Regions from separate parts of the Homo sapiens genome. Here region 2 is linked to region 1. Evidence: promoter capture Hi-C in 16 types of primary human blood cells and fetal thymus (Javierre and others, 2016). All regions are on one chromosome and are shown on one strand. Each heading gives the region's core, a stretch centred on a gene start or on the middle of the fragment in contact. The rest is flanking DNA. Distances are from core to core; before and after follow the strand shown. Region 1 holds the start of TEX10 (testis expressed 10). Region 2 overlaps ERP44 (endoplasmic reticulum protein 44).

Evidence for each region. The method cuts DNA at HindIII sites, captures the fragments that hold promoters and counts their contacts. A CHiCAGO score of 5 or more calls a contact.
Region 2: a contact is called between a fragment that was not itself captured here and the fragment with the promoter of TEX10 in region 1, in 1 of 17 cell types (naive B cells). The highest score is 5.4, in naive B cells.

Annotation. Positions count from the first base shown.
Region 1 is chr9:100,351,197-100,354,293 of GRCh38, reverse strand. TEX10 (testis expressed 10) reads left to right here and starts at 1,352. Exons shown (of 15, transcript NM_017746.4): 1 at 1,352-1,522. It overlaps LOC105376177 (a long non-coding RNA gene), which reads right to left and starts at 1,244. Exons shown (of 4, transcript NR_188642.1): 1 at 713-1,244; 2 at 199-297. RefSeq lists enhancers at 1,025-1,659, 2,064-2,113 and a silencer at 1,174-1,723. The HindIII fragment of the contact is 13,255 bases long and covers 1-3,097 here.
Region 2 is chr9:100,013,701-100,016,593 of GRCh38, reverse strand. It overlaps ERP44 (endoplasmic reticulum protein 44), which reads left to right. Exons shown (of 12, transcript NM_015051.3): 8 at 156-272. Among named protein-coding and RNA genes, the nearest start is that of ERP44, 84 kb to the left of the region's middle. The HindIII fragment of the contact is 2,190 bases long and covers 331-2,520 here.

The DNA of each region.
Region 1 (3,097 bases), core at 103-2,602:
TGTTTGCAGGCTTTTTGCAGTGATCAAGAAGCGGCTTGGACCAGAATGGTAGCAGGGGAGGTGTGTTAACTGGTGAAAGTTAGGATGTCTTTAAAGGTAGAGTCAATCTCCAGATGGATTAGATGTGAGGTGTGGAACAAAGAGGCCAAACCAAAAACCCAAAGGTTTCTGCTTGAGTAACTGCAAGGACAGACTTACTATTTGAGATGAATAAGCTGTAGGAAGAGTAGATTTCAAGGGGAAAATCATCAGTAGCTCTGTTTTGGACAAGTTGACCTTGAGATGTATACTGGATATCTGAAGGAAACATTGAAAAAACTGTTGGATACAAGTTTGGAGTTCCAGGGACTTGTCTGGTTGGCAATAAATCTTTCCTCTTCTGATCTAGTCTCATAGCTTTAAACAGAATATAATGCCACATAATGCCAATGACTCCCAAATATTTATGGTTATGGTCGATTCCAGGCAGATTGTGGTGATGTGGCCATATTGCCAGCAAAGGGAGGTCAGGGTTTCTAGCGCTGCCTCTTTATCTCCGATTATGGAACAGGCATGGTTTTAGTTCCAGTGCTTGGGTCTCCCTGGATTTAGACATCATTCCTTTGAATTCCCACCCAATATAATGAGGGTCAATATCTTCGCTAGCTTTACTAAGTCTTAATTATCTGGTGAGGTGTAGACACAAATTTGAATCAAGGTCTGAAGTCCTTACCTGGGGCTCTTTCTTCCATGCCATCATGCCAGTCTTTGTGAAGACATTTTTCAAAGGCTCATTCTTCTTACCTCTTTTCTAGGAATTTTAGTTTATTTCTTTACTTAACTTCAGAAATTAATTTCTCACTTCATTTTAGTAGCAGGAATGTTAGTGCTGAGAAACTGAGATGTTAGGGAGAATCCTTGACCAAGACTTCCAGGCTCTAGATACTAGGTGTGTCTTGCTCTAATTAAGGAAATCTTATCTGCTCCATCTTAGCCCAGTTTAACGTCCCCAGGAATTCCATCTTCTGCAGTCCTAAACTTTTCCCTTTTTCAATTCAGTGCAACTTATACTCTTCTCTGAAAGTGGCTCCAGGTCTGAAGAACTGTGGTCTGGGAGGAATAGAAAAGCATGCTCAGCTATAACCAGGCCCACATCCCCTAAGTTGCCTGCCCACCAAGTTACGGGCCGGACTTATGCGCCACGCTTTGTCCGGGGACCTCGCGCTGTCCTCCCTCCGGTTCCCACAGAGCAGGGGGCTTCCGGCGGGGTACCCTCCTCTGTGGGCGGGGCCTACCGCTCCCGCTCCCGCCTCCCCGGTTGCGCGCGGCTGCGGGCTGCGATCACGTGAGCACAGCAGGGAGGGGGAGGGGCCCTGATTTCCGGGCGGCGGAAGGAGACGCGGCCGCGTGAGGACGAGGCTATTTGAAAACACGCTCCGGGAGCTAGAGCCTGAGGTCGGCGGCGCACGCTGTTGCCCCGTGGGCTTCTGCTCCCTCGCTTGTCTTCTCGGGCTTCTCGCCCCGGCCGCGGCCGGGTCCTCAGGTAAGCGGCCGTCGCCCGTCGGGCCGGGTCCTCCCGGGGCGCGGGACTGAGCGTGGTGGGGCCGTCGCCCCCCGATCCGCGGCCCAAGCGGGCAGGGTCGGCCGTGCACGATTTGCGTCCCCCGGGTCTGGGCCGCGGCGTCCCTCCGAGCTGGGCCTGGGTGTGCGGCCGGCACTGCGGGGGCGGGACCCCCTAGGGCGTTTGCGGAGCTTCAGGTGACTGGGCGGGTTCGCCTGGTTTCGGGTCCGAGAGAGTTTTAGCCCGGAGTGTGTGAATCGGGCCCCACTTCCCCGACTCTGGTCCTGGCCGGCGTCCCTTGGAGTAGGAGGAACGATGGTTTCCTAAAACCCATGGTGTGTTCGCCTCTGGGATGGATGCAGGACCGAATACGGAGTGGGGATGAGCTGGCGTCCCCTGTTCCGTCCTCTGGTCGCCCAGGCGGGAGAGTTAAGCGAGCGGAAGGGGACTACCAGTTTTCTGGGGTCGCCCCTGCCTGGGCCATTTGCTTTTTGGGAAGTCTGTCGCCTCTGGTTGGCCCCTCAGTGGAGTTTGGAGGAACTCATGAGTTTAAGGGTTTGGGGAGGAAATTATCAAAGGCCGAGTGCAGTACGATCGTTCTCTCTGATTTTTTTTGGAAAAGAAGGTGGAAATGAGGAAGGGTAAGAAGGTGGCAGGCAAACTATTTATAGTTGGAATTTAGTTCGATTGAAATCCTAAAAACGCTAGGATCTGCCTTTTGTTGGAATTAGAAAAGACCTACAGTAGGAATGTGTGACATTCAGCTTTGAAACTATTGGGGATCGCAAACCTAAGGACTAGTGATGTGAGCTCCTCCTCTGAGACTGGCGTTCCTACCTTTTGCTAAAAACCGGCTACTGTAAAAGTGGCTTAGTGGGACTTTTTGATTTGCTGTGTTATGAAAATCTTTGTTATAAGTTAAAGTCAATTACTAGTAGAACTTTGAGAGTTCTTCGCATGAAAATGCTTTGTATCCCGTAATAATATTACTAGGTTTGAAAAGTCAAGGAAGGTCAATCAGCCTTCTTAATTTTCCTAACAGAGAAAGCATTAATGTGACTAATACAAAGCGATAGATAATATGGCATGAAGTTGACAGTAGACTGTTGAAGATCTATCAGGTGGTTAATGGCTAAATAGAACCCACAGGAGTGGAGGAGGAAGGGAGTTAATTTTTCTGAATGTCCTGTACCATTTACTTTCGTGTCTAGTACCAGCTAGTAATAAAATTGTAGGAAAAGCTCACAAAGTGTGCTTGCTTAATTAATGAAAACCATTTTTGTATTAAAAGAGGCCAGGTGAGTATCATGGCCTTCTTTTTAGGCCTTATTCCCTCCCACCCACCCACCCACCGACCCCCAGCTTTTTTTTTTGTTTTGTTTTGTTTTTTAAGACTAAGGTAACTAGAGGTGTGGGTGAGATGAAAATTTGGTAATAGGGACAAATGAAATAAGCCAAACTGTTTTGCCACGAAGACTTCCAGTCTTCAGGTTAATTCTGGTATGTTAAAGGTGGTTTTGCAGAGCTCAGTTCTGTGAATGAATCCCTTTTCAACTT
Region 2 (2,893 bases), core at 176-2,675, 340 kb after region 1:
GGAGGTCAAGGCTGCAGTGAGCCATGATCATGTCACTGTACTCCAGCCTGGGTGACAGAGTGAGACCTTGCTTTAAAAAATATAAAGAAAAAAAATAAGAATATACTTTTGCCAGCACAGGTTAGATTTAATTTTTTTTTTCTGTTTTGTAATAGCATTCTGCTCCGGATATGGTGTACTTGGGAGCTATGACAAATTTTGATGTGACTTACAATTGGATTCAAGATAAATGTGTTCCTCTTGTCCGAGAAATAACATTTGAAAATGGAGAGGTATGGGCTTTCTACTGTGCATTGTTACTTTAAATTCAAATGTCTGAAACCACAAGCTTCCTCCACCTGTCTTACTATGTTAACAGAGTTATGAATTGTAAGAATCATATAGTGAACATAACTATATCATAGCTGTTTCTGTAATATACACCAGTGATTCTTCACCTTTGCTATCCCAGAACCCCTCTGTTACATTTCCAGTAATAGTAGTAGTTCACTACAGCCTTCAAAATGAGTTTGAAAATGCCTTTCAGGTGATTCTGATACCCATCTGTTGGTTGAGGATCCCTGTTTAGGTGGATGTCCTTTAGAACAAGGGTCCCCATACCCTGGGCCGCAGACCTGTATCAGTCCACGGCCTGCTAGGAAGAGGGCTGCCCAGCGAGAGAGCATTACGGCCTGAGCTCTGCCTCCTGTCAGATCAGTGGCAGCATTAGATTGTCATACGAATGTGAACCCTGTTGTGAACTGTGCATGTGAGGGATCTAGGGTGCATTCTCCTTATGAGAATCTAACTAATGCCTGATGATCTGAGGTGGAACAGTTTCATCCCGAAATCATATCCCCCACCCTGATCAGTGGAAAAATTGTCTTCCATGAAACCAGTCCCTGGTGCCAAAAAGGTGGGGGACTGCTGCTTTAGGAGCAATGCTTTGCAGATTTTAGTTACAATTATTTCTATACAATGAATAATCCTTTGCCACTAGAAGATTTTTCTGTTTTTTGTAAAGCAGTTAATGTTGTCTTTTCCATTATAAATAATGAAAGCAGGTAGCAGTGATAGGTAACCGACCTCAGTCATCCCATGCATCTGAAATCAAGCCCATCGAAATTCTTACAACTCCCACCAAAATAAAACTTAAAAACCTAAGAGGCTGGAGGAACAAGTACAAAGAGTTATGTCTGTAAGGACCTCTCTCCTTTCTTTACTTTATGTAAGACATATCTTTCATTCCAGGTCTTTTGTTTTTAAAACCAATGGCCTAAGAATGCAAGTTTTTAAAAACTTTGTATTAGGTACAGTTTTTAAAAACTTTGTGTATGCATATACACTTCAAAGAATTGTAAGTGTATAAATCACAGTTTAAATATCTGGTCCCCCAAAATTATCACAGAGTAAACATACCCATATAATCACTACTTAGAGTGGTATGGACCAAATATTTGTGTGTCCTAATATTCATATGTTGAAATCCTAATCCCCAATGTGACAGTATTAGGGAATGAATCCTCCATTCATGAGATGGAGTCCTCATGAATGGGATTAGTGAACTCATAAAAGAGACCTCAGAGAGTTATGTAGCTCTCTTTCTGCCATGTGAGGATACAATGAGAAGTAGGCAGTCTGCAGCCTAGAAGACAGCTCTCACTAGAACTGACCATGCTGGCACCCTGATTTTGGATTTCCAGCCTCCAGAATGATGAGAAATGAATTTCTGTTAATTTGTAAGCCACCCAGTTTATGGTACTTTAATATAGCAGCCCAAACTAAGAGAGAGGGTGGACAATTTTTTTCAACAAAGGGTCAGATAGTAAGTATGTTAGCCTTTGCAGTTCATATAATCTCTGTGGCAGCTACTCAGCTTTGCAGTTGTAGCACAAAAGTAACCTTAGACAATATGTAAACAAATGAGCGTGGCTGTGTTTCAATAAAGCTCTTTCTGGACAAATAATTTTCACATGCTGTGAAATATTAAATTTTTTTCCCAATTATTTAAAAATGTAAAGACCAGGGCCTTGTGCCATGGCTCACGCCTGTAATCCCAGCACTTTGGGAGGCCAAGGTGGGTGGGTCACCTGAGGTCGGGAGTTCGAGACCAGCCTGGCTAACTAACATGGTGAAACCCCCGTCTCTACTAAAAATGCAAAATTAGCCAGGCGTGGTGGCAGGCGCCTGTAATCCCAGCTACTCGGGAGGCTGAGGCAGGAGAATCACTTGAATCCAGGAGGCAGAGGTTGCAGTGAGCCAGGATCCACCACTGCACTCCAGCCTGGGCGACAGAGTGAGACCCCGTCCCTCCAAAAAAGAAAAACAAAAAACAAAAAACAACTAAAGACCAATTTTAGCTTGTGGACCTAACAGAATCAGGCAGCAAGTCAGATTTGACCCATGGCTATAATTTGCCAATCCCTGAGCTAAGTCAAGAAATAAAGTATTTCCAAACCCCTTGTCTTCCTTCTCAGTTATTACCCCCACTTACCATCTTCATAATCACCATACTTATTTTCAATAGGACTATAGGAAGCTTTTCCTGTTTTTGAACCTAAAATGGAATCATGTCTTTTGTGTCTGGCTTCTTTCACTCAACTTTATATTTATGGAGTTCATTCATATTGCATGAAGCTGTAGTTCATTCATTTTCATGCTGAATATAATTCCCTATATAAATATAACACAATATATCCATTCTACTATTGGTGGACATTTAGACTGCTTCCAGATTTTGACTACCGTGAATAATGCTGCTATGAACATTCTTTATCTATGTCTTTGGTGAATATATGCACAGATTTCTACTGGATATATATACCTATGAATAGAATTGCTGAGTCATAGGGCATATATACATTCAATTTTAGTGGATACCAGTTTTTCCAAAGTGGTTTTAGCAGTTTACATT